6 separate regions of the Homo sapiens genome follow, and regions 2, 3, 4, 5 and 6 are each linked to region 1. Evidence: promoter capture Hi-C in 16 types of primary human blood cells and fetal thymus (Javierre and others, 2016). All regions are on one chromosome and are shown on one strand. The core of a region is centred on a gene start or on the middle of the fragment in contact, and the rest is flanking DNA. Distances in the headings are between cores, read along the strand shown.

Region 1 (5,065 bases), core at 2,443-4,942:
AGAGTTTACTTGGTGAAATATGTACAGAAAGGCAAGGCAGAGAGCAAATGGTGTAGCTCCTAAGAAACTTCCTTTAGGAGATTATTAAGAAAAGACCTCATCTGCCACAAAAGACTTAAAATACAGACAAAGCTGGTTTATTTATGGAAAAATATGCCCAAGAGAATGTTATGTCAAATGCAAGAAGAATATGCTAGTTGTAGGACCAATTCACACTCCTATTTGTTGGAAACACATCAAAAGAATGAATGAAAGCTTAGGTGATTTAGATATAAGAAGAAAAGGACTGCTCTCTTGAGAACCAAATTTTCTTCTAAGTAGAATGTCTTTAGACCCCTATCCATATCTCCATTAGGAAAAATTATGACTGAATTAGTAGTATAAATCAGGAACATGCATTATTAGATGAATTAATTAGGACACTGTGTCATTCAATAGGTATATACTGAGTGTTTAAAACCTTTCAAGGCTTTCCATTGCACTTAAGAGGTAAGTTTACTTCCCTTGCTCTTCCTCTCTTCCTATTGTAAACCCTATCTGAACCCTACCTTTACACTTTCCCATCTACCTTTTCTGGTCTTATCCATCACCTCCAGTACCAACTCCCAACCTACTTTCCCAATCCACCTTCCTCATCAAACATGTACTCACATGTAGGTGGCACACAAACACAATACCAGTCATTTTCAAATCCCTCTAAATTCTAGATCAGTGCTGTCCAATAGAAATGTAAGAGCCCTATATGTAATTTTAAATCCCCAAGTAGCCACATTAAAACGGTAAAAAGAAACAGGTAAAAGTGAGTATTTTATTTAACCCAATATATCCAAAATGTTATTTTGAAATATAATCAATATAAACAATTATTGAGATATTTACATTCAATAATGTAAGGCTACTGGCTACCATACTGGAACAGCACAACTCAAGCCATCATGGTCCCTGACCTTGGACTATCACACATATATTTCCCCAGGTCATCTTCCCCATTTCCATGGTGTCTGCCTTTTCGTCAGGCCAATGCCTACTCATCCTTCAGCACTCTTGTTTAAATGTCTTCTGTTCCAGGATCTCTTCACTGTTCCCATTCACCTAAGTCTGATGTCCTCCCTATGTGCTTCCACTATCAGCTTTATTACACCACTGATTTACATTAGGAGCAATAAGAGATCAGATACGAATATATTATTCCTGCTATCAAATAATTTGCAACTTAGTAAAACACAGATGCATAAAAAAAGTACATAAACAAATTGTAATGAAGTCTGTAACCTGAAGGTTGTGAATACAGACTACCTAAGGCTGTATGCCAATTCCACCACTTAACTAGCTCTGTGATCTCCAGCGAATTACTTAACCTCTTAAACTTGTTTCTTCATCTATAAATGGGAATAATAGACTAATACTCGTGATGTTTTGAAGATTAAAAGAGATAAACCGATTAAGAAGTTTATCATGCCTAAGACATAGTAAGCCCACAAATGTCAGCTATTATCCATTGCCCAGTACAGTATCTGAATGTAATTAACAAATATTTCTTCACTGGATGAATAATGCAAATATACAAAAACTACAATAAAGAAATACTAACAAAATACTCTGGATATTCATAAGAAAGACAAATCTTTGATGGGATCAAGGAATGTTTTGAGTCAGAATCAGCATTTGATTTGGGTCTTATAAAACAGACTAATGAGGGACAGAAATAAAAGAAAGAAGTATCAGGAATTAAAGCTGGAAAATTAGGATAGTGCCAAGCAGCAAATCTTACTAAGCGAATTCTGGCTTAATAAGACTATTATTTGCTAAAAATGAACTGAAAGAGACAAATATAACTGTGAAAGTTTTTTGAAATTCAAGCAGGCTACCATTAATATGGAAGAACTGTTACTGTAGTAACATATAAATATATAACCAATATAAGTATATAATAAAAATGATTGAAGTTGTCGAGAGTCCAAATTTATGCAGATATCCACCGTAAGATTTTGCTCTTAGAATCTGAGATCAATTTAGAAATCGCATTGTTGTAAATGTATTGGTACATGGTAGAAATAGCAGTCCTTTTGAAGTACCACTGAGTCAATATATTTTTAAAGTTTGACAGCAGCTGTTGCTATTTGCAGGGCCTATTTTTGACCAACAATTCCTAACTCCATATCTCTAACTTACAAAGTGGTATCCCGTTGTCCTGACTGATCTATTCTGAACTGATGAACTATTTCATTTAATCAAATGGGCTTTAATACATTTTTAACCTGACTGAAATTGATATTGGGATGCACCTTAGATACCCAGTCTTGGCTTAATTGTGTGAAAATCTTCTTCTAAAACCTTGATATTTTCTGATTAAGTGCAAGAAAGTGCCAGCATTGATGCATCTTGAGTTGTTGAAGTTCTGTAGATATGCTTACCTGGATAAAAGCCATTTCCAGAAATGTTTGTCTTCCTGTCCTCTCCTTTATATGCCGGTATCCAAGTAACAGAAGCTTGGGTTTTCTACCATCCATTCATTCCCCAATAATTTCCTCAAAAAATACTTACTGAGCTCCTACTGTGTGAAAGGCACTATTTTTGGTGCTGGGGATATAACACCTCATAAAATGTGAAAATATGTCATTTTAGATGTCAAACACTATCCCTTTTCTATTGCCTGTCATCGCTCTCTTAGCAGAAAGGATTCAACAGCTGCAGTCTCTAAAACTTACAAACCTTCTATGCCCAATCACAGAGAACAGCCATTTTCTAAAATCCCATTTCACAATCGTTCTTCACTAGTTGGAAACAGGAATGAGATGTAGTTCACTTACGTAATCCTTGTGAAGATGATGTACTGCCAATGGCATAATATAACCAGGCAACTTTTTACAAGCACTAAAACTTGAGAATGAAGTTCCTAGATACTTCATGATAAGTCAGAATTAAGAAGTCTGAGAAAAACCAGACGGCAAGTTCCGGATCAAAAAAATTTGAGGGTAAATTAGTTAAGCAGTTCAAGAAGAAAAGCATCACAAATCTACAATATCAAACCCTACCCAAATTCTCTTTAAAGTGTGGCTTTCCCCTCCCCTATATTCTTATAGGGGATTCACTTCCCTGCCAAAAAGTATGTTCTTCTCTAAAACTCGTGGTAGGTGCATAACAAGTATACTTATGGGTCGACGGTTATCAAAGTATCTTTCACCTCCCTCCCGCTGCCTCCTTTGGGACCGTCCAAAAAGAGCCCCTGGGAAGAATCGAGTTAGACTGGGCTCCCGGAAGGCCACCCAGGGGAGCAGGGGCGCGCACCTGCCTCGGCCACAATGATGAGGTTGCTGCTGGTAGGAGTCCCGGTGGGAGTCGGGGCAACCTGGAAGATCTCCTCTCTCTGGGTATTAAATGAGAGTCCCGACTGAGTGCCCAGAAACTTCTGCAGTCTTGTTTCCGTGGCCTGGGCCCTCCCCAGCCTCCCCGGTCAGGCGACAGACGCGCGTGGCACTTCTCCCGAGCGTGCAGTCCCGCTACGTCGCAGCCCTTGGACCAAACCCGGCAGCAAGCGTTGCGCCAATTGCCGCTGACCCCTCCGGGACCCTACCCACTGCGAGGGCACCCACTGGTCACGGAGCCGCCGCTTCCCTGGCCGCCTCCTCCAGCATAGAACCGCTCACCTGCGACCCCGGCGGCACCTCCCCACGGTCGCCCCAAGGGGGGTAGGAAAAAAGATGCTTCATTGATCCCCCGCCCACTAACTGGGCCCGCCCATCTCCCGCCACCCCAATGGCTCATATGGCTGCCGCTCATTTGATGAGTCTCATCCATTGGTTAGAATGGTGTAGCCATTCTGGCTGAGAGCCCGCCCTAGGCCTGGCCTCACAATGGGAATCAAGTCCCAAACCGGTTCCGGGTTAGTGCCCTGGAATTCCGCCCCCTCGTGATTCACCTCCCTGTCTGTGCCCCGTCTGTGGCGCGCAGCTCTGTCAGTCAAGTGGACTCTAGGAAGGGATTGGCCCCTAGAGATCCGCTTGCTGCGCTGTTCCAACTGATTGGGGCACTGGCCGCTGCATCTCCAAACTCGTCTCTTGTCCTTGACCCTCACCTGTTAAAAGGGCAAAGAAGAAGTAGGAAACTTGTGCTGCTCCAGTCGGGTTCTTAGGCCAGCATCACCTTCTCCTCGACCAGCTGCGACCTAATTGGCCTCAGCCATTCCTCTAAGGCTGCCCGTGCCAAAGGTCGCTGGTGACTTCCTTATGGCTAAATCTAGGAGTCACTTCTTAGTCCTTATCATACTATATACTTCCCAGAAGACATTTGAATTTTTTTTTTTTTTTTTTTTTTTTTTTACCATTCTTCACTGTTTCCCCAAATATGTGCTTCTGCTTTCTTCTCTCCCAGTCCTCCTCTATATTCAAGTTTGCAGTTGCTTATTTTCTGCCGTCTCACGTTCAGGTGTTTGTGATTAGTGCACCTTTCTTCCCGCTGCCTCTGTCCAGGCCTCTGTGGACTCACCTGAATTCCATCAGTAGCCTCCTAGCTGGTCTCCCAACATCCTGTCTGCCGGACTGTAGTTCATTCTTCACGTTGTAGCCAAAATGAGCTGCTTAAAGTTTTTTAGTGGAATCTCACCACTGGTGATACAGTACAAACTCCTTATCGAACCTGAAAAATAAGGCACCTACTTTTCCCTCAACCTTCATCTCTCGACATTATACCCACATTTCTTCTTCCTTACCCCATTCCCTTTGCTTCTTTCAGTTCCTGAACTCTACAGTGGCTACTGGGAAGTCAGTTTGCATTGCTGTGTTTCCTCCCTGCTTCTCCGCTATGCCTAGCATTCATTTTTAGAAATTCCTTTCTAAAGGAAGGCTTCCAAAATTATCTCCATTCACCCTCCCTCCACTTCCAAGTATTCCCTTCCCTGTAGGTTTGCCAGATAAAAACAGGACGCTCAGTTAAATTTGAAGTTCAGATAAAAAGCAAATAATTTTTAATCTGTCCAATGGAATATTTGGTATCCATATGTTTATTTGCTAAATTTAAAAAAATAAAAATTTTTGTTTACTAAATCTGCAAGCCTACTTCAGCGAGC
Region 2 (4,895 bases), core at 335-2,834, 1.2 Mb before region 1:
AATTAATTTTAGATCAGTAGTGCTTTTATTAGTAACAACAAAATTATGTCTACTATTTATTAAGCATTTACCATGTGCCAAGCACTGAGCTAAATTAAACCATTTAAACATGATAGCAAATGTAGGAGATAAGTATTATTATTATTATAAAAGTATTATTTTAAAAGTATATAAAAATATTATTATTATTATAAAACCTGCTTTTCAGATGAGGAAATGGGGAAATAAAAAGGGAAGTTATGTTGTCGAAATTTACTTAGTGGTAGAGTTGAATCACAAGTTTATGACTGACAAATTCCTATACACATGTTCTTAAGCCACTGCACTAAGAAAATATGATTTAACTCATAAGATATCTTAAAAATATGTCTGGCAAATTGGCAAAGAATAAAGAATTGATTGTGTTCAAAATTGGCAAAAATATTTTAAAACAGACTTTTCTTTTACATTGTCAGCTGGAATTGTAAAGTGGTAGAGACTTTTGAAGATCAGTTTAAAGAAAATATATTAAAAATATTAATGGGTGATTTCAATGGCTAAATAACTTTGAATCATTTATACTCTGAGACATAACCAGACATTGGCAAAGGTTAATCTAGAATTATATTTATTTTAGCATTGTTTATTCAATAGAAACATTAAAAATAAAATAAACTTTAATAATTGAAAATTCATTAAGTACAGCGTTACGGGATAGCTGTATAATTAATACTAATAATTTATTCAAATTACTGTTTTAGAAAAAATTATTTAACCTCATGACAAAAGTTTCAATATGCTTTTAAAAGGAAAAAAATTCCCAAGTGTAAACTGAACTATACACCCATACACTCGTAAAACATATATTTGCTAAAGAAACTGGAAGGCTACACCTTCAAAGCTAATTGTGGTTATCTATGAATGATGTAATTATGAATAAGTTTTGCTTTTCTTTCTGTTACTTTCTGCATTTGCTAAGTTTCAAACTTGTTAATTTTTTTTTCAGTTCATAAGCTGTATTAGCTAAGATTCATTTAAATCATTATCCTAGTATATACAATTTTAAATTGCATCTCTTCATTTACATCAAGTTAATTACCAGGATACAGAAAAATTTTACTCGTCTTCATAACTTAATCCTTTTTTTAAAATTCAAGTTTCAAAATATTACAAAAGTTTTAATGGCGTTAGTGTTAATAAACCAGGATTCTAAGACATTACATCTCATAGGTCTCTGAAAGAAAATTGAGGCTTTCTATTGCATGTGCGTGTGTCTCCAATTTAGTATGTGAGGATGAATTCCTAGATAATAAAGATATAGGAATTTCTAAGCTTTGCCATGTTATCTATCAGTAAATGAAAATCATTTCCACTAAATAAATCGATTTCCTCAAACTTCTAGTTGTTTAGCTCTTACCCCGAAATCTTCTTGTGTCCTTTCTTCCTTGAAGTATTCCTGGGGTGTAGTCAGTGGTTTATAACAAAGAAATGGACTTTGTTTAAATAATACAGTAATATTTTCTCATTTATTTTGAGAACTTATAGTAGATGTTTCAAATGATCTGAGAATTTCTGAGAGTATTTGCAGAATCACTGCTTTTGCATATTCAGAATCACTGCTTTTGAATAATTATTATAATGCTGACCAGGAGATGCTGCTAAGAGGAGGAGTTCAAATTATTGACTAATAAGTTGTGTTTTTCTTTCTTTCTGTTTCAATTTCAGTGAATCAGAAGAGCAATCTTTTTTTTTTTTTTTCCAAGTTGGCTTCATCCCTGGGATTCAAGGCTGGTTCAACATGTGTAAATCAATAAACGTAATTCATCACATAAACAGAACTAATGACAAAAGCCACATGATTATCTCAATAGATGCAGAAAAAGCTTTTGACGAAATTCAATATCCCTTCATTTTAAAAACTCTCAATAAACTAGGCATTGATGGAATATATCTCAAAATAATGAGACCCATTTATGACAAACCCACAGACAATATCACACTGAACGGACAAAGGTTGGAAGCATTCCCTTTGAAAACCAGCACAAGACAAAGATACCCTCTTTCTCCACTCCTATTCGACATAGTATTGGAAGTTCTGGCCAGGGCAATCAGGCAAGAGAAATAAATAAAGAGTATTCAAATAGGGAATCAAATGGTCTCTGTTTGCAGACAACATGATCCTACATCTAGAAAACCCCATCTACTCAGCCCAAAAGCTCCTCAAGCTGATAAGCAAATTGAGCAAAGTCTCAGGATACAAAAATCAATGTGCAAAAATCACAAGCATTCCTATACACCAACGATAGACAAGCAGAGAGCCAAATCATGAATGAACTCTCATTCACAATTGCTACAAAGAGAATAAAATACCTAAGAATACAGCTAACAAGGGACGTGAACGACCTTTTCAAGGAGAACTACAAACCACTGCTCAAGGAAATAAGAGAGGGCACAAACAAATGGAAAAATATTCCATGCTCATGGATAGGAAAAATCAATATCATGAAAATGGCCATACTGCCCAAAGAAATGATATTCCCATTAAACTACTATTGACATTATTCACAGAATTAGAAAAAATTACTTTAAATTGTATATGGAATCAAAAAAGAGCCTGTCTAACTAAGACAATCCTAAGTAAAAAGAACAAAGCTGGAGACCTCATGCTACATGACTTTAAACTATACTACAAGTCTACAGTAAACAAAATAGCATGGTAATGGTACCAAAACAGACACATAAACCAATGGAACAGAATAGAGATCTCAGAAATAAGATAGCACAGCTACAACCACCTGATCTTTGACAAACCTGACAAAAACAAGCAGTATGAAAAGGATTCCCTATTTAATAAATGGTGTTGGGAAAACTGCTTAGCCGTATGCAAATTTTTTTTTTTTTTTTTTTTTGAGACAGAGTCTCACCTGTCACCTAGGCTGGAGTGCAGTGGCATGATTTCAGCTCACTGCAATCTCTGCCTCCTGGGTTCAAGCGATTCTTGTGCCTCAGCCTCCCAAGTAGCTGGGGTTACAGGCTCCCACCACCACACCCAGCTAATTTTTTCTTTTTTTGTATTTTTACTAGAGATGGGATTATGCCACGTTGGCCAGGCTGGTCTCTAACTCCTAACGTCAAGTGATCCACCTGTCTTGGCCTCCCAAAGTGCTGGGATTACAGGCCTGAGCCATGGCACCCAGCCTAGGGCAATCTCATACTATGTGTAAAGAGGAAAGACTTCCCTTGGCTCTAAAATAATCTAATATTTTGTGACACTTCCTTAATCCAGCTGTGTTTGGAGCAAACATTCTAACTGTAGAATTTGGTTCATCTGTAAAACAGAGCCTAATGTCTGATTGGAGACATAGGTAGTCTGAGATGACAGATGGAAAATATAGCAGTGTTCTTTTCTGATGATCGTTTCATAGATATTTTGTGGATCTGACCCTATTTTTTTTAAGTTTGCTTTGCTTACCTTTGTTTTGTTCTTAGAGATGTATCCTCATTACATTTCCTACATATCCCTGAAGGTTTTATATAAGTTGCTGTATTTCCTGTGTTTTAAAAGTTTTTTAATTTTTCTATTCTTTTGGAAAATGTGGCATTTAAGAGCATCCTTTGTTATAATACATTTGGATAGCATTATTCTTAAAACACCTCCCTACTTATTGGATGATTCGATTCTAACAACAATGTGAGGTAAATAGTGTAAATATAATCGTAGCTATTCAATTTCAGGAAAGTTTTAAAAACCTAGGTGAGAGTATACAGTTTGGCAAAGGATGCAGTAAAAGACCTCTTTTGTGAGTAGGTCAGATAGATAGCTGTTTTATGGTGCTGTTGGAGGAACATTATCTTGAGGTTTTGCTCCAAGGTCTGTCTCTGTCTCTCACAAAGATGATCTTCCAGTTGTCCCTATAAAAATTATGTCTACATTTACATAATGGGTGAAAAAAGACTGGTCATTATGTCCTTGTGTATTTTTTAAGTGAATACATGATTGAGAAAGAAGAATACATTAGTTTAGACAACATAAATTGACAATTTATGTCCTGATTCCAAAAAAAGGAGAGAAATGCTTATGGCTAGAGATGTGCTATAGATCCATTGGTGTTTCTTCCCACTTTTTACCCGGGACTAAGATTTCTCTGCAAGGGCATACTACCTTCCAGTGAAAATTCCGTTCTAACATGACACATGCCACAGAGAGTAAAAACCTTTGATTATGCCTATTTTGAGCATCTATAGCAGCTATTTTATTCAATATTAAGCCCCACAGTCAATCATGTATACTAAAAGTGAAGCCTATGTAACTCATTGAGATACAGTGAGAACCAACGCATTGTAAGCTACCAGAGCAACTAAACAACTAAATGACTGTCATTTTTGTATGGCTCTATGACATGAAATTTATATTTTACTTTAATATAGAGGCAATCTGGGTACTTTGCAATTCTTAAAAACTTATGATAACAGAGAAAGGAAGACTTTTTTTGAAATCTCCAGTTTAAAGGTGGAGGCATACAGATTTCAGAGGATAAAAAAGAACATGTTCAAGAAAATACTGGCAGGAATTTCATATTAGAACAGGAACAAGGATGAGACTAAGAAGGAGGTCATCTGATGGGCAGCCAATTAAATTGAGATTCTGTTTAATTCAGTAAGTAGAGCCCTTATTTTTTTCTAAGTCAAAATTTTATGAAATCATTAAAAACACTGTGCAAATTATCAAGAAAACTATAGTCTATTTTATCAGACAATCTGACTCTATTGACTAATCCTTACTGAGTTTTTATTTTACATCTACATTAGGGGATTGCAGCACATGCAGCAAAACATCACAGGAGTTTAATGTAGGTCCCTGCCATTTTGTAATATCTTGGTAGGTTATTGGTTAGTTAAAATCGTCTGAAAAAGTG
Region 3 (4,756 bases), core at 922-3,421, 1.0 Mb before region 1:
TCCTAACCAGAGGAATTAGACAACAGAAAGAATTTAAAGGCATCAAAATAGGAGAGGAAGAAGTTAATGTGTCCTGTTTATGAATGACATGATCTTACATATATTAAGAAAACCCTAAATGCTCCATGAAAAATCTGTTGGAACTAATACACAAATGCAGTAAAGTTGAAGGATACAAAAACAACATGCAAAAATTAGTATCATTTTTATAACAACAAACTAAAAAATTGGATGATAAAAATCTCATTTATAATGGCTATAAAAAAATTTCATGAAATAATAAGGAATAAATGTAACCAAAAAGTTAAAGATGTATATACTCATAACTATAAAACATTGACAGAAGAAAATGCCTGAGATTCACAAAAATCAAAAGATATCCCGTGTTCATGAATTGGAAAATATTACATTATTATGTCTATACTACCCAAGAAATCTATGAATTCAATACAATTCCTATTAAGCCTCCAATGGCATTTTTTACAGAAATAGGAAAATCAACCTTAAAATTCATATGGAATTATTTAAAAATTCAAATAGCCAAAGCATCCTTGAGTAAAGAACAAAACTGGAGGCAGCACACAACCTGACTTTAAAACATACTGCAAAGTTATAATAATCAAACATAGTACTGGCATAAAAGCAAACACAGAGATCAATGGAATAAAACAAAAAGGCCAGAAATAAACCCAGTTATTTACAGTAAATTTATTTTTGACAAAGTTTCAAGAACAGACAATAGGCTAAGGACACTTTCTTCGATAAATGATGTTGGGAAAATTAAATATCCAAGAGCAGAAGAATGAAAACGGGCCCTTATCTGCCACCATATACAAAAATCAACTCAAAATGGATTAAAAACATAAGCCTAATAACTGAAACTTTGAAACTACTACACAAAAACGTGGAAAAGCTTAATGACACTGGTATAGACAATGATTTTTGGATATAACACTAAAAATATGGGAAAAGAAAGCAAAATTAAGATATGAGATTACATCAAACTAAAAAGCTTTTGCAAAGCCAAGGAAACAACAGTGTGAAGAGATAACCAACAGAATAGGAGTAAATATTTGAATCCATATGTCTGATAAGATATTAATATTCAAAATATATGAGAAACACAATTCAATAGGAAGAAAACAAATATTACAAAATGAGCCAAGGACCAAAATAGACATTTTTCAAAGGAAGATGCATAAATGGACAACAGGTCTATACAAAATGCTCAACATCTCTGATCACCAGGGACATTAAAACCACAATGAGATAATGCCTCACACCTGTTAGAATGATTAGAATGGGTATTATAAAAAAAAAAGATAACAAGTGTTGGAAAGGATGTAGAGAAAAAGGAACTCTTGTATACTGTTGGTGAAAATATAAATTAGTACAGTCATAATGAAAAACAATAGGAAACTCCTCAAAAAGTTAAAAATTAAAATGAATTAAAAATGTTAAAAATGATGTAGCAGCCCAAATATTTAGTATATATTTTAAACATTAAGTCAGTGTGTTGAAAAGACATATACACTTCCATTGTGATTGCAGCATTATTCACAATAGGCAAGATATAAAATCAACCTAAGTATCTGTAGATGGATGAATGGATGGAGAAAGTATCATAATGCAACAGTATTCAGCTTTAGAAAAAAGAAAGAAATCTTGTCATTTGTGACAACATTGATTAACATGGATAACATTACATTAAATAAAATAAGCCAAGCTGGGCACCAAAAAACAAATACTATATGATCTCACTGATGTGTAGACTCACAAAAGTTAAACACATAAAAGCAGAGGGTAGAATGGTGGTGATTAGGAGGAGGCAGGAAGTTTGGGGAGATGTTGATCAAAGGAAACAACATTTCAATTAGATCGGAGAAGTAAGTTTAAGAAATCTATTGCACCACATAGTGACTATAGTCAATGATGAATTCTTGAAAATTGTTTGACAGTGTAAATTTTAAGTGCTGTAATCACAAAAAAAGATGAGCATATGAGGTAATGCATATGTTATTTAGCTCTTTAGGCATTCTACAATATATATTTCAAACATCATTTTGTACATAAGTACATAAAATATTTATTTGCCAATTAAATAAATAAAATAATATTTATAAAAAACAATTCAAGACATTTGGCTTGAGAGCCTCTTTTCATAATCTATAAATTCTCATAGCATCAATTATAAGTTTAAAATAATAAATAAATGACTCAAATTTATGGATCAGCCCAGATGTGGATCCCGTATGGAAACCCATACGTCCAAAAATGAGACGTCACTTAAAATACTCCCACAACCTCATTCAATTGAACTTTTAAAATTGAACTGCTAATTTTCTTCTATTTCCATCCTTCATTTGCTCCTCCATATAGTAAAAAATAATACCTAACTTCCAAGTGCGGGAAGGCAGCAAAACCTGGTGATATTAAACTTCTTCTGCCTTCTGTATGTCTTATTCCCCAACTCAATTCACACTGCATTGATTTTATTTACTAAACATTTTCAGAATCTGACCACTACTCTTAATTTTAATTGTTCATTACTTCTATTCAGGCCAACACCCTTTCTTTCTGAATTACACCAAGAACCTTATAAACCTTCTTTTTGTCCTTTCTATTCTATTCTTCACAATAAAGAGTGTTCCTATATCTAGATTTGACCATGAAACGTCTCAGCTTATTCTAACCTAGGCCTTCTCATTCAGCCTCATCTTCTGATACTGTCCCCACCTTGCTCATTACAATTAAAATATTCTGCTCTTCATTTAATGTCTAGTCCAGTCTCCCACCTTCTCCTTGCTTCCTATTCTCCTATACTTTCTGTTCATTCTCCAAGTCTAAGACCAGATGGCATTTTTTTTTTTCAGGCAATCCTCTGATTCTCTGAGGGGAGACAATGTCAGAGGTACATGCCCCTAGGGCACCTTGTTTCTCTTTAGGGTAGCATAGTTTTTTACCTTTAATTGTGATTTCCAGCCTAATTCTCAGCATCCACCATTAGATTTTATGCTCTGTGAGGATAGGTGGCCATAAACTAGGCCTGCACTACTTCTGGCACTCAAGGGAAGTCTAATAATTATCTACTGAATCACTAGTTGAGTGAATGTAGAAACAAATGAATAAATTTTAGGTATGGCCCAACTCTTGAAGAATATTTAATAAAAGGTAAGTAAGTTTGATTTTATTTAATAGACAATAAGCACACACTGGAAGTTTTAAGCAGAAGGAAGGCATATTCATTCTGGAAAATTTGGTGAGCAAAAGTTTGTGAAAAATACTCTGCTAGTTGTGAGGGTACCATTTTGAGGAAATGTTCTTACATGTTCAAGCTTACAGTCAAGTGGAAAGATAGATATGCAAATACATCAAATAAAAAACATTGTAAGAATTTAAATAACGAGCAGATGCTCAAAAAAAAGCATGAGCACACTGTGTTTCAGGTAGAAGATAGCTGTCCAGAGAAGGGAGGGCTTGGCACTGAGACCTGAAAGACTAGGAGGAATTTGCCCCTTGGACAAGTGAGGGCTGGTCCCCTAACAGAGAGCAGTGTGGGAAGAAACACAAAGATTTTAGGGTGTCTAAAGTAATCAGGAAGCTGGGCTAGCTGGGCTTTAGAAAGTATTGAAGTGTGCAGCCAGGACTGAAGTGGGCGTGATGAGATAGGGCCATCATTTGAAGATGTTTGTTTGCAGAAAATTGACAGAACATTAGAGTGTTGAGTTTAAGAGTCAGGCCAACCTAGATTCACTCTTCTCAACAGACATTAGACCAAAAGAAAATTTCGTAGTCCTTTTCTAGACACCTTCCTCAACTATAAAATGGCAATAATAGCACAAACTTAACTGACTGGTTTTAAATATTCAGTCACAGAGAGTGCAAGAGATACCGATCACACAGTATTATTTTTAAAAAACAGTTTTTATTGATTACTTTTTGTTATTTTAGTAATCAATGAATTGAAGATGCAGTGATAATAAAAACGAATGGAATAATTTAGAGGCCAAATTCATCAAGAGCAGTTTTGGTCCTAGGCAAAGTGATGTGATGTTCTTACACATTTTATATAGGATACTGTTTTTCACTAGTTTTATTTAACAAAGACCAACTACACATGGTTGTTTATAATTATTAACCCACTTAACTTATTTTTGATTAGTGCTCTTCAATTTCTCCTATCTATTATCTAATGATTCTCCTGACTCCAGTCTACGACCAGTAAAGTCAGCCTGCCCGGCCAAAGAGGCAGCCATGGCTATGAATTTGACTTACTCCTCCCTGGCCAAATGCTTTTTAGTATCATAAAATAGACAAAAAAAAAAAAAATTTAAAAGCAAGCAATTCCTGCATTTTAGGAGTTTCAGTTAAATGTTGTGAGGTGAGATGTAAACCTTGGAGATAATTAAGCTAGTGGGAGAATCGAATAAAGAAACTCAACAGCAAGGAAGTACAAGTGAAGTAAAATACAGTAAACATTTGCTTCTTTTTCTTATGAACGTAAAAATCGTGCCTTAGAGTGATTAATGGAAAAATGAATAAGTATATTTTGAAAGACAGAAACACCATCTAAAACACTATCTGAAAGTTTAGATATTTTTAAAAAGGCAATAGGGAGCCAATGTATGTTGCTGAGTAAGAAAATTACATTAATAGATCCCTAGCATGTGAGAGGTGAGAGTTAACTAACTGACCACCTTTGCTAATGATGCTAACCTGCAGAAGAACCTGTGCCAGGCTAGCTTCATAAGAATTG
Region 4 (4,619 bases), core at 1,358-3,857, 1.1 Mb before region 1:
TATTAACTATTTTTGTACACAGTCTGAACACAAGGACTCAGCCTTTTAGCTGATTGTAAACTGGATTCCACCCCACAAAAGGGAAGTGGTCTCTAAAAGGACAAAGATAGGTTTAGTGAAAATGATAGTTTAGGAAGGGAAAGATAGGGGAATCACAGAAGACACTGCTTAGGCCTTGGAGTTAAACAGATTTAGGGAAAATTGAGACATTCATTGTAAAAAATCCAGTCTTACCTTTTTTATTGGGGGATATTTGGTCTATGTTAAAAAAGGTTTGAAGAAGCATTTGTCCTGCCATACGTTGCTTCTCTTGCATAGAGTCTGCCATGACCCGAACTTTGTCTTCAGTTTTAGCATCGTAATATTTCTTTTTTTCCTCTTCCTTCCAGTTCAGTACATTTTGTTCCACCAAGTTATCCAAAACACCAGTGAGGAAATCTTTGCCCAGGGATTCCAACACCTTAAGTGGCTTTTTTCTGTGGTTGCCTTCTGTTAGAAATAGAAAGATTCCTTTAACTATGGGCACAGCTTAAAGAGTTTCACCCTCACTTTAGATATAGTTCTATAATGTGAAATACTTCTGAAAGTATGTCCTACTTCACCATCTGTCTTCTTGTACCTATAGAGTTCTGTCATTCATCATATTCCTACCAGGTTGTTTAACAATTTATTGCCACTAAATACTTTTTATTTTCTTTTTTGTTCTTTTTTCTTTTCTTTTCTTTTAGCTTCTCAACTTCCTTCTGTGGCATTGGACCTAATGCAAACTTCCTGGTCATCCACTGTATTCATTTTTCTCTTTTACTGGTTCACGGCCCATAGTGATAATGATCTGCCTAAAATATATATTCCCGGGAAAGTCAATGCTCTTGTCTAGAATATAAATTCTTCCTACTAGATTTTTACTTCCTATATGATTTTTACTCTTTTCTGTATTTAGTTTTCTTGGTGAAAGAACTATATCTTTGAATTTGCATTTTTTTAACTTACATCCTATACCCACATCTTTGTATTCAAAATGTTTAAAAGTACTTAATATGCTTGCTAAATACATAAATTAAAGAATAAATGGATGAGTGCATCCATATTTATAATTCTTTCAAATCTTGTTCTCAATGAAAATTTAAAATTGAAAGTAACCTGATTCCTAATCTTCCAGTGTGGTGGATTAGTTTAATTTGACACCATGTTAATGTATTACTCCTTAGAGTAATTTGAATATTTATAAGGAAATATAGATACCAAAGTAATACATCCTTTGTTTCAATACAACAGATATGATTTCGGCAGATTGTACACAGAAATGCTGGATATCTTATCAATTCTCAATCAATGCTACAAAGATAATTATACAATCCATGTAGATGTAAGGATAGTGCTGACAGAAAATGACATCTAAAGAAATCATGTCAGGACATTGCACAAAAGCTTTGGCACAGAAGCACCAGCCTCATTGTCTGGGTTATCTTGAATTAATATTTTCATACGTGCTTATTGGGCAGCTATTATGAGAAAAACATTAGACATTACAAACCAGGAAAAAAGTTACATAATATAAATTAACTTAGTAAAGGGTAATATCTCCCATGTACTTATTATAAATAAAAAATGAATGCATATAAAACAATTTAAATCATTATTATAATCATCATTATCATTTACATATCACTGTACCAAAGGTTTTACAAATGTTAATATACTGGACCCTCACAATAAGCCAGTGGGGTAGTTATTATATTCCCTATTTTATATTCACCATTTAAATAATAACTTATGTCACATCACATGAATTAGGATTCAAATCTTGTTTTTTTCACCATAGTCTATATAGTTAATCATGATATGGTTCAGTTAAAATAGTTAATATTCATTGAGCCCTCATCATGCCAAGTGCATTACTGAAATTTCACAAAAATTCCATATAAAACATATATTAACCTCTCTTATATGGAAAATGGAAGATAATAAGTAATTGACTCAAATAATGTAAAAGAACACCGAGTATATAGTAACTGGGAACAAGAATTGAAATCTAGGGGTTCAGAATCCAGAGCCCCCATTCTTAATTCATCAAACTACATTACCTGACAGTTGGTGAAGAGCTTCTTAAAAGAATGTAGACAAGATATTTAAGGGGCTCAGAAAACATTAGTGCATTCCAACAGGTGAGATCACAAAGGCTTCTGAGAAGAGGTAGCAAAAATGTTAGTCTTGCAACATCAGGTACAGATGTTGCAACACAGTGTGATTTGCAAACAGTACACAGATTAGTGTGTGGGATATCCAAACTACCTGAGTTCTGGGCTTCTGTTTTATTTATTTGTGTGCTCAGTAAACTAATATAGTGTTGACTGAATAAATGATATGTGAAGAAATATAATAAGCAATAAAATTGAAGAGTTTTTAACAAAAAAAGTCACATATGACAAACACACAGCTAACATCATACTCAATGGTGAAAAGTTGAAAACCCTTTCTCTAAGATCAGGAAGAAGACAAAGATATTCACATTTACCACTTCCATTCAACGTAGTTCTGACCAGAGCAATTCGCCAACAAAAAGAAATAAAAGGCATCAAAATTGGAAAGGAAGAAGTTTAATTGTGCCTGTTTAAAGATGAAATGGTCTTATATACGGAAAACCCTAAAGGATCCACCAAAAATCTTTTAGAACAAATAAACAGATTCAAGAAAATTGCAGGATAAAAAAAATCAACATACAAAAATCTGTAGTGTTTCTGTATAACAATAAACCATCTTTAAAAAATAAATAAATTTCCATTTAAAATTGCTGCAAAAATACTTAGAAATCAATTTAACCGAGTAGGTAAAAAACAAGTACACGTAAAAGTATAAAACTTCAACCCGATCAACATGGTGAGACTATGTCTCTACAAGAAATTTAAAAAGTTGGCTGGCCATAGTAGCATGTGTCTATAGTCCTTGCTTCTTGGAAGTCTGAGGTAGGAGGATTGCTTAAGCCCAGGAATTTGAGATTATAGTGAGCTATAATTGTGACACTATACTCCAGTCTTGGCTACAGAATGAGATCCTGTCTCAAAAATAACAGCAATAATAACAAATCTCAAAACTATAAAATATTGATAGGGAAAACTGAAGAAGACAAAAATAAGTAGAAATGTATTTTGAGTTGATGGACTGGAAAATTACTATTATTAAAATGTCCCTAATACCCAAAGAAATCTAAAGATACAATGCAATTCCTATCAAAATTCTAATGGCAGCTTTTACAAAAATAGAAACAAATCCTAAAATTTATATGGAATCACACACAAAAAAACAAACCCTGAATAGGCAAAGCAATTTTGAGTAAAGGGAACAAAGCTGCAGGCATCGCACTATCTGAGTTCAAAATAGACTACAAAGTACTACAGTCATCAAAATAGCACAATAGTTGCATAAAAATAGAAACAGAGAGCAAATGAACAGGACAGAAAACCCAGAAATAAACCCAATTATTTACATTAATTTGACTTTTCAACAAAGGTTTCATGAACACACAACTGGGAAAGAACAAATTCTTCAATAAATGATATTGGGAAAATTGTAAAACCACATGCAGAAGAATAAAAATCTCTAAACATATACAAAAATAAACTCAAAATGAGTTAAATATGTAAATGTAAGAACCAAAACTGTGAAACTACTAGAAGAAAACAGAGGGGAACAGCTTCATAACATTGGTCTAGACAGTGATTTTTGGATATGACAGAAAAGGACAGGAAACAAAAGCTAAAATATGCAAATGAAATTACATCAAACTAAAAAGCTTTTACACAGTCAAAGAAACAATCAAAAGATTAAAGAGATAATCAACAGTATGGTAGAGAAGATTTGCAAACCATACATCTGATAAAGAATTAATATGCAAAATACAAAGAACACAAACAATTCAATAGAAAGAAAATAAACTGATTTAGAAATAAGCAAAGGACCAGAATAAACACTTTTCAAAAGAAGACATACAGAGAATATGTATATGAAAAATGATCAACCTCTCTAGCCACCAGGGAAATTGAAGTCACAATGAAATATCACTTTGCACCTGTTGGAATGGCTATTACCAAAAAGACAAAAGATAACAAATGGTGGAGAGGATGTAGAAAAAAAGAAACTCTTGTACACTGTTGGTAAAACGTAAATTAGGCCCTGCGCAGTGGCTCACGACTGTAATCCCAGCACTTTGTGAGGTTAAGGCGGGCAGATCACCTGAGGTCAGTAGTTCTAGACCAGGCTGGACAACATGGTAAAACCCTGCTTCTAGTAAAAATACAAAAATTAGCCGAGCGTGGTGGTGGGCGCCTGTAATCTTAGCTACTCATGAGGCAGAGGCAGTAGAATTGCTGGAACCCTAGAGGCGGAGGTTGCAGTGAGCCTAGATTCCATGACTGCCCTCCAGCCTAGGCAACAGAGTGAGACTCTGTCTCAAAAAAAAAAAAAAAAAAAAAAAAAAAGAGTAAATTAGCATGGTCTTTATGGAAACCTATATGGAGACACCTCTGAAAGTTAAAAATAGAGCTAAAGATATGATCAAGCAATCCCACTATTAAGTATATATCAAAAATTGGAAAATCAGTGTCTCGAGGAGATATCTGAAC
Region 5 (4,637 bases), core at 1,609-4,108, 1.1 Mb before region 1:
AAAAGGTCAAGTTCAGAACCATTTCGATTATGAAGATAGTTGAATTCTTTGTTGCGGATGTTGAGGCCAGGCATGTTCGCCTCTCTTTCTCCATCACTGGATATATCTGCAATTAATACACACAGAATGACTTTCCCCAGGACTTTTCTCTTTTGCCTGCAAAGTTCATACACAACAGGCCAATATAAATATAGAGTAAGTGACACAAAGTTTCTGCATGAAAATACACCCTCGTGAGGAAAGAGGCAGAAAACCAGACTGAAAGCATGTATGTGGTGTAAGTGTTCACTGTATGAAGTTGGCTTAAGTTAGGTGGTGGAGAGTTTAGACTGTGTCCCAAAATAAGATGGAAGAAACAGAAAATGTAATGTGAAGACCAATTGGTTAGATAATTTCCTGATCTTAAGGCCTTTGTGACGAGAGCTAAACCATTCCAGTAAGTCCCCAGTGTCTTGTCTGAATGAGTAATCTTGTGTCTCCGTATTTCAAAGCATATCACCTCATCTGCCCTTTTTGTCTTTAGTTCATGGAAGTGAGCATGAGGACAAAGCTTTAACTTGCCACTGGGTTGGGCACCCTGGATTTCCAGAAAAGCTGAAAGAGAGAAAAAAATTCTGTGGCATAGTAAGCAGTAATGTCTGCTGCCTTGCAACACTGCAGATCCTTTTGCTAGGCTCTCATTCCTCAAAACTGCTTACTGCCAGTCCATGAAAAAGTTTCATAAAATGAGAAAATTGCTTCATATTTAAAATGCCTAAAGCAAAAATATTGAGTACATCCCTATTTTCCTTCTGCTTCTTACTGACCTGGTTATCAATTTGTGTGTTTTTGTTAGTGCTCACAGCATGAACTTATCTTTCAGACCCAACACATTAGCATCGTATAAACACAGAAACTAAGATTCAGAAGGAAGTGTAATGTTTATCTAGCCTAGTGGAATCAGTACTCAGCTATTTCATGTCACTTGAAATATCCCTTCTTTATTATTACCATTCTCTGAGACATCTCCCCTTTCATGGAACTCAAAACATTCCAAGGCATTCTTGAACAGTTATGTGTATTACAATCTGTGTACCTTCTAGGTATTGATAGGTATTTCCCACCTCAGAATCATACAGAAAACATTTAATTCATTTCCCTGTAAAAGCCCATGAATTCTTCCATGACCAACATGTCTTTCCCTATTTTTTCATTCTTACATGAAAATACCTTCAACATAAACAACTATTGCATTGTACTTTAATTGTGTTTACTGTACTATAACCTTAATTAGGATAGAAAAGGTGGTCTTCTATCTTTGTATTTCCAGTATATTAGAATAGTATCTACCAAGATTGCTAGTTTATAAATTCTGTTAGTGAATAGTTATCCTCAAATACTTGAAAATAGCTACAAGGTATCCCCTGGTTCTTTGTTCCCTTAGGGCAACAAACCTTCTATTTCTTTTCATAGTTTTGGGTAAGAAATATTTCATCTTTTAACCACCAAATCCATTAATTTGCCTACATCTCTGCTCACCTCCTCTACTTTCTCTTTGGCTACATAAAACATGTGTCCTTCCTCCTATCTAAGATCACCGCCTCTACCTGAGCTCTCAAATCCATCCCCTCCCACCAACAAGGGTTTTTCTCAGGTATTTATTCAGCTTCAGGTTCTATGACATCATTCATTCTCTTCCTCTTTTCCCACAGACTTATTCCTATTGACAGCAGCATGACTTAATATATATCATTTTTTTAAAAAAAACCTTCCTGTTTCCTTGCCAATTATTGGCCCATATCACTACTTTACTTCTCTACACAATGCCTGAAAATCATTTTGTTTTTTGCTATTTCCAATTTTTCTGTCTTATGATTTTTGTATGCAATCCAATCCAGCTGTTATCCTCAATCCTTAAATAAAATATAGTTATCAAACTACCACTGATTATATGTTGATTTCTTAGCATTCACATGGCATTCTCTAGGCTTCTGTAATGCTGCATTTTCCAGCCATTCTTCCTAACTCTGTCTGTCTTAGTTGTTGGTTCTTCCTCTTCCACAATGCCTCCAAAAGTTGTGCTTTTCTATGCCAGACACTCTGTTATTCTCTATCAATGCTCTTTCCCATGTGGCATCTTCCAGTCTCAATATCTTAAAAACTATCTACATACTGACGAATCTCCAGATTTTTCCCAGTCCAGATTTCTCTGTGAGCCCATCCATTTGCCTATTCAACATCCACCACTGGAGGTACCACATGTTCCAAAGTAAGCATACAAAACAGGACCCTGATATTGTGCATTCCTTCAAATCTGTGTCCCCTGCACACCTGTTTTCTCTGACTCAGTAAATGGCACCATACACCCCAGTTGCCAAGCCAAAAACCTAGTCATTATTAATTCTTTCCTTTCTTTCACATCCCATATCCAATCCATTAGTCAATTTGCATTGATTCTGCTGCCAAAACTAGGTCTCAAATTTAACAACTTTTCATCAGCTCTATTGCCATAAACCCAGTCTAAAAGCTATTGTTTTTCTAACTGAAATATTTAAACCGCTTTCAACTGGCCTTTGTGATGCGACGCTTATCCTATCACTCCTCGTTTAACAGCTTCTAAGGTAGTGTAAATGAAGGCAGGATGCATCATTTATCATTTTTCTGCTGTAGACATTAGGACATGCCCTTGCAGTTACAACCTACTTGGCTCAATTAGCATGTAATGATTTCAAAATTGGCAGTGAAATTAAAGGGAGAATTGAGAGTACGGAGGGAAGAAAGTAAAAGGAAAGAAGGAGAAAAAGAACAGAGGAAAAAAAGAGAGAAGGAAAAAACAGAAACAAGAAAAAGAATGTCAATGGGAAAGAAAATAAAACAGATGATAAGAAAGGAAAAATGAAAGAGATGGAGAAAGAAAAGTGGGAGATTAAAAGCTCCTTTATTTTTTAAAAAACTCTCAGTTGGAAACACCTTATTTACATTTTGGTAAAAGGGAGTACCAAGTTCTTACTCAGGGCAATTTATCATATGTCATATTACTTCTGCTTTTTAATGTCAACTTATTTTATGTAAACTAAGATAAAACTTAGCTTCCATAAAAACATTCTTTAATACTCACACAAGTTTAAGCACTTGTTTTAGAAATAGATGTTAACTGTAATAGATGGCCAGGAAGAACAGAGGCTATGCAACACTCCTGGAATTTGTAAGGATCCTCGACTGCTAATAAACAGTTGTCTAAAAAAGATTCCAAAAAAAGAAAAAAAAAAGCAAAAACAAAACCCTGCAACGTTTTATATTGCAAATAAAATCCCGGCCTGTCTCTTTAATAGCTCCATTTATACTCCCTCTAATTTCCTACTCTCCAGTCAGATTGGCTGTGACCCTCTTACACAGCAAGAGCATTACTGTCTCAGGGTCCTTGCTCTTGTTTCCCCTTTCTAGAGAACACTTTTGTTTCAGAGTTTGGCACAACTCCTTCCCCACAGTTCAAGTATGTACTGAAATGCCACCTCTGGGGAGAAGTTATGGCTAAACATCCTGGCTCACTGGCCTTTTCTTGATGCATATCCAAGAATTGGGAATATACTTATTTATGTATTACAGTCTGGAGTAGGAATCAGCAAACCATGGCCTATGGGTCAGATTCAGCCCAACACCCAGTTTTATAAATAATGTTATACTGGGATACACATCAACACACCCATCATGCACTTATGGTCTATTGCTGTTTGTGAGCTACAATAGATGATTTGAGTCATGACAGGGGCCACATGGTCCAGAAAGATTAAAATATTAATTATCTTTCAAAGAAAAAGTGTAGCAACCCATGTTCCAGAGAGAAGGAAACATCTATACCCCACTGACCCATGAATTCCCTATTCCTTCCTTAAATAGAAATCTAGATTTCCAGACATTTCTTTCTGGGGCAAAGCCACAGCTAAGCAAAAGATAATAGATATCCCCTATTGTACATTCTGTATCTGGGAATGACTCTAACGTCCACTTTGTGCAACCAGAGTAGCCCAGAATAGCTAAAGGCTATCACTGAATTTAATGTATCCAACACCATTCCTTTATTTAACAGATATTTACTGAGCACCTATTATGTTTCAGGTATCATTTCCATGTGTTTGGGATATATTCATGAACAAAGCAGACAAAGACCCCCCACATGGTGGAGTCTACATTTCAGCAGAGGGAGACATAATAATATAATGAATAAGTAAATTGTATGGAGTGATATGGTGAGTATTGTTAAAGAAAAAAGTATACAGCAGTGTAAAAGTAATTGGGGATGATCAAGGTATTTTGTGACATTAAATAAGATAGACAGGAGGTCAGGCCCAGTGACTCATGCCTGTAATCCCAGCACTTTGGGAGGCTGAGACAGGAGGATCACCTGAGATCAGCAGTTTGAGACCAGTCTGGGCAACATGGTGAAACCCTGTGTCTACTAAAAAATAAATAAATAAATAAATAAATAAATAAATAAATAAATAAATAAATAAATAAAATTAGCCAGGCATGGTGGAGGATGCCCATAAAATCAGCTACTTAGGAGGATGAGACAGAAGAATTGCTTGAACTGGGGAGGTGGAGATTGCAATGAGTTAAGATTGCACCATTGCACTCCATCCAGCCTGGATGACAACAGC
Region 6 (4,751 bases), core at 1,970-4,469, 1.0 Mb before region 1:
TTTGTAGTTCTTCCAGTTCTTCAAAATCTTCACATCACTGAGTGACTGATTTAACCCCAAACTATTTCCCCTGCACAACACAAGTGCATAATTTTGCATTCAGTGCACTGTAGTGTTTCTTCAGCATCTCATACTCTGTCTGCTATTTCTTTTATGTTTGTTGACTGTTATACATTCTTAAGGAGGCTGTGAAATATTAGGGATATATGGTTGAATTATTTATTTTTTCAAAGCTGTGAAAATACAATAAAGAACACATTTTGGTCACTTTATTAAATGACATTAAATAGTTTAAGTTTAAACTACTAAACAGCACTTTTAATGGTGAAAACACAGGTAGTATATTGTCATACTTGAATGCTTTTCTTTAGAAACACAATTCCAGTCCTTATATATATTACAAGACAGCCTTAAAGGAAGAAGTGACATCTTTTCTACAGTACTTAAGATACTCAATACAGAAATGAAAAGCGGTCTAACAGAAACAAAGACAAAGAGTGGTTTTTATCTCAGAAGAAAAGTAATGGTAGATTTAAAGCAGGCAGAAAAGATAATAGGACCTAGGAACTCTATAGTTTGTGGTTCAACCTTTGGGCTCTTTCTTCTTAATGTAAATGTGCACAAAGATGATTTACTTCCATTTCACATAAACTCTGGTGTTGTGGGAAGTCAGGGACCCTGAACAGAGGGACCGGCTAAAGCCATGGCAGAAGAACATAAATTGTGAAGATTTCATGGACACTTATTAGTTCCCCAAATTAATACTTTTATAATTTCTTATGCCTGTCTTTACTGCAATCTCTGAACATAAATTGTGGAGATTTCATGGACACTTATCACTTCCCCAATCAATATTCTTGTGATTTCCTATGCCTGTCTTTACTTTAATCTCTTCATCCCATCATCTTTGTAAGCTGAGGGTGTATGTCGCCTTAGGACCCTGTGATAATTGCGTTAACTGCACAAATTGTTTAAACAATATGAAATCTGGGCACCTTGAAAAAAGAACAAGATAAGAGCGACGTTCAGGGAACAAGGGAGATAACCATTAGGTCTGGCTGCCTGAGAGCTGGGCGGAACAGAGCCGTATTTCTCTTCTTTCAAAAGCAAATAGGAGAAATATTGCTGAATTCTTTTTCTCAGCAAGGAACAGAATGCGTTCCTAGGGGGAGGTCTCTAAAATGGCTGCTCTAGGGATGTCTGTCTTTTACGGTTGTCATAAGGAATGAAATAAGCCCCGGTCTCCTATAGTGCTCCCAGGCTTATTAGGATGAGGAAATTCCCACCTAATAAATTTTGGTCAGACTGGTTGTCTGCTCTCAAACCCTGTCTCATGATAAGATGTTATCAATGACAATGCGTGCCCAAAGCTTCATTAGCAATTTTAATTTCACCCTGGTTCTGTGATCTCACCCTGCCTCCATTTGCCTTGTGATATTTTACTACCTTGTGAAGCACGTGATCTCTGTGACCCACACCCTATTCGTACACTCCCTCCCCTTTTGAAAATCACTAACAAAAACTTGCTGGTTTTGTGGCTCAGGGGGCATCATGGAACCTGCCGACATGTGATGTCTACCCCGGACACCCAGCTTTAAAATTTCTCTCTTTTGTACTCTTTCCCTTTATTTCTCAGACTGGCCGACACTTAGGGAAATAGATAAGTGCCCACAAAGAATTATCAGGGATGGGTTTCCCCCAATGCTCTGGCAAGTAGAGGTGCCAAAAAAACCTACAAAGTGCTCAAAATAGGCTTTTCCTCCTTGTTTTCTACTCATTCTTAGATTATTTGTTTCCTGCTTTTTTTTTTTTTTCTTAAAAGGAGAAACTGAGCTGTGGCCTAGGGTTTTTGTGTGGTGGATCGATTTGTACTGCTCGTGGGCAGGACTCTACAGTGTGTCACCATTGAGTCAGGTCTACCCTTGTACATGTCTCAGTTTCTCTCTCCAGAGTTCTACAAACTCTGAGAGGGCTCAAAACACTGGGTAATCAGCCTGATATTCATTTCCTGGACAAGCCATTTTTATAATTAATTTTTGTTGGGGATTTTCCTACAGGGCTACTGCATGTCACAAGGGGGTCAACCCCCAGACATACCCAGGGGTGCCTTTTGGCTAGGAGGAGCAAATGCCCTTTCTCTTCAAAAAAAGTTGAGAAAACTCAGTTTCTCATTAACCGGTGAAATCAACAATTCAGTTCCTCATGCAAATGTGCAAAGTGAATTAAGATTAATTTTGGGAGACAAAGCAATAGAGAGAATTCCTTGAAAATCATCTCCAAACTATAATTAAAATCCTGAAACTACAACTTTCTAGGAGAAAAACCAGCTAAGATAAATCAAAGACCATCAACCAAAGAGAAGTCGGGGGCTCAGGAGGACTTACCAGTTCCACCAGATGAGAAGCTTGAAGTCATGTAGGCTTCAATGGGCCCTGCTACTACCATAGCTCCATATTTGGGCAACTCCTTCCGGGTCCTGAGTCTTCTCTGAGGTGCCACATGTTTGATCACCAAATTATTGTCAATGAAAAGAGTAAAACTCTGTAAAATGTTTGAACAAATTTATTCTTAGCCAAATATGAGTGACCATGGCCCATGACACAGGCCCTCAAGGAGGTCCTGAGAACATATGCCCAAGGTAGTTGGGGTACAGCTTGGTTTTATACATTTTAGGGAGGCATGAGATATCAATTAAATACATTTAAGAAATACATTCATTTGGTCCAAAAAGTTGGGGCAACTCAAAGTGTGGGACTACAGGCTACAGGTAAATTTAGACATTTTCTGGTTGATAATTGGTTGAGTTTGCCTAAAGACTTAAAATCGATAGAAAGAAAATGCTCAGGTTAAGATAAAAGATTGTGGAGACCAAGGTTCTTTTGAAGTCTTGTAGTGACGGGCCTTAGAGAAAACAGATGACAAATGTTTCCTATTCAGACCTTTAAAAGGTGCTAGACTCTTAGTTAATCTCTTCAGGATTAGGAAAGCCTGGAAGAAAATGATCTAGCTATGTTAACAGAGATTCTTTACAGATGCAAATTTTCCGGCACAAAGGACAACTTTGCAGGGCCATTTCAAAATATAGCAAAGAAACATGTTTTGGGGTAAAATATTTTGACTTTCCTCCTTGTCACATAATGATATGCCAGGGTGAGATTCTAAAGTCACGATACACAGGGTTAAAGAAAATCCATCTGATGAGAATTTATGGTTTGTAGGGCCTGGCTCCCCAGACCCCTTAGATAGGAATTTGGGCAAGATAAAGTCATCAGAACGAATATCTACCAGCCAGCCATCTAATTCACAGAAGCCACAATCTTCAGTACTGACAGTATGAGTTCTTTGACATTAAAAGACAGACATAAAGAAACTGAAAAATCCTGGATGCATACAGATGAAGTCAGTGGTTGAATGTCTGGTGTTCTTAAAGACATTAGCACTCACCACCGCAGCAGGCCTGGATGAAGATCACCTTGGGTTTGTCCTTCAAACTTGGACAGTTCCTGGTATTCAACATTTGGAAAATTTCATTGACTTCTAATATATTTGGGAGTTACTCAGAGTATTTTTTCCTACAAATGCCTTCCCAAATACCATGAGACGTGAACACCAGGAAAGTGCTGTCAGAGGTCCTGTGCTCTGGGCAATGAGCAAATGCCTTCAGCTCTGTAGTCATCTCCTAAAAGGCACTATACCACTGATTTTGGACTGTGTAATTCACTATCATGGCACCTTAGAAATCAAATAAATAAATACATAAGGGATTTCTTAAGGAATTTTATGATGAACAATGGAGAGGCAAGAAAAATTTTAGTCTTAGTTTGGAGAAAAGGGAAGAAAGTGTTATAGGAAATCATCCAGAGATATAGAGAGAAGGAAGCATTATTGAGTTAATAAAACACTCCCCAATTAAGTTATACCAGGCTTTAGCTGAATAATCCTTATGTTATAAGAGAACATGTAGCATCCGGCATCCTCCAATGGCAAATTTGGATTTTAGATTATGAAGAGATTATATTCTCTGGTCCTACAACTAAGCTTTCTAACATAATTTAGGAATATGAAAGCCATTACCATTGTCTCTGTGTATGATAAAACTTACTGAAGCAGTGACATTTTCATTCACATCCACGCTATACCCCAGAGATTCTATCAGCATCTTCATATCTCTGACATCAACTTCACCTCTAACCCTCCCAGGAAGAATGGCATTCCTCGTGGATAATGGGATTCTTCTCTGTCCCACTTTGTGTTCCTTACAGCATCATCTATGTGTGAAGCCATAAAAGAAGAAATGCATTCTTAGGAGGACAATCCTGATGTAGTCATTAACACCATTGAGTGAATTCTCTGCTAATGGAACACTTCCCAAGCTAGAGGAGATTTTTAGTGGTGCAATGCAGGAATCTATATTAATATTCTAGCATCAGCTTTTTTACAAATATTTTAGACAAAAACATAGAAAGGGGCATTTTCAAGGCCGGACGTAACAAAACACTCAGAAAACAATGTGTGAGATAAAATCTTTACAATATAAGTTGATTTCAAAAGATTCAAACCCTAGGATAAATTTAATAGGAGTAAGACTTAATTAACTTTGTTAAATATGTCTTTACAAGATGTATGTCTATCTATTTATTTACTTATTAGACATGATAGTAAGCATTAGACATTGTTCTAATGAGCTTTTGTGCCAACATTCAGGATTTCTTCTCAGTACATATCTATATGGGAAGGAAGAAGAAGAATAG

The links. Contacts are between HindIII fragments. The CHiCAGO score rates a contact against its expected background, and 5 or more counts as called.
Region 2: a contact is called between a fragment that was not itself captured here and the fragment with the promoter of MSANTD4 in region 1, in 1 of 17 cell types (monocytes). The highest score is 7.1, in monocytes.
Region 3: a fragment that was not itself captured here is called in contact with the fragment with the promoter of MSANTD4 in region 1 in 1 of 17 cell types (total CD8 T cells); the score reaches 5.2 in total CD8 T cells.
Region 4: a contact is called between a fragment that was not itself captured here and the fragment with the promoter of MSANTD4 in region 1, in 1 of 17 cell types (naive CD8 T cells). The highest score is 5.6, in naive CD8 T cells.
Region 5: a fragment that was not itself captured here is called in contact with the fragment with the promoter of MSANTD4 in region 1 in 1 of 17 cell types (total B cells); the score reaches 7.3 in total B cells.
Region 6: a fragment that was not itself captured here is called in contact with the fragment with the promoter of MSANTD4 in region 1 in 2 of 17 cell types (non-activated CD4 T cells and naive B cells); the score reaches 5.5 in non-activated CD4 T cells.

Annotation. Positions count from the first base shown.
Region 1 is chr11:106,018,548-106,023,612 of GRCh38, forward strand. MSANTD4 (Myb/SANT DNA binding domain containing 4 with coiled-coils) reads right to left here and starts at 3,693. Exons shown (of 3, transcript NM_032424.3): 1 at 2,415-3,693. RefSeq lists enhancers at 3,215-3,334, 4,165-4,234 and a silencer at 3,665-3,774. The HindIII fragment of the contact is 3,155 bases long and covers 2,488-5,065 here.
Region 2 is chr11:104,844,397-104,849,291 of GRCh38, forward strand. No RefSeq gene overlaps it. Among named protein-coding and RNA genes, the nearest start is that of CASP4, 120 kb to the right of the region's middle. The HindIII fragment of the contact is 551 bases long and covers 1,310-1,860 here.
Region 3 is chr11:105,011,438-105,016,193 of GRCh38, forward strand. All of the region lies in intron 1 of CASP5 (caspase 5), which reads right to left. Among named protein-coding and RNA genes, the nearest start is that of CASP5, 9.4 kb to the right of the region's middle. The HindIII fragment of the contact is 2,323 bases long and covers 1,011-3,333 here.
Region 4 is chr11:104,954,513-104,959,131 of GRCh38, forward strand. CASP4 (caspase 4) reads right to left here. Exons shown (of 9, transcript NM_001225.4): 2 at 235-489. Among named protein-coding and RNA genes, the nearest start is that of CASP4, 12 kb to the right of the region's middle. The HindIII fragment of the contact is 2,362 bases long and covers 1,427-3,788 here.
Region 5 is chr11:104,892,398-104,897,034 of GRCh38, forward strand. It overlaps the pseudogene CASP12. Among named protein-coding and RNA genes, the nearest start is that of CASP4, 74 kb to the right of the region's middle. RefSeq lists an enhancer at 2,295-2,823. The HindIII fragment of the contact is 4,621 bases long and covers 549-4,637 here.
Region 6 is chr11:104,971,912-104,976,662 of GRCh38, forward strand. No RefSeq gene overlaps it. Among named protein-coding and RNA genes, the nearest start is that of CASP4, 5.7 kb to the left of the region's middle. The HindIII fragment of the contact is 1,634 bases long and covers 2,403-4,036 here.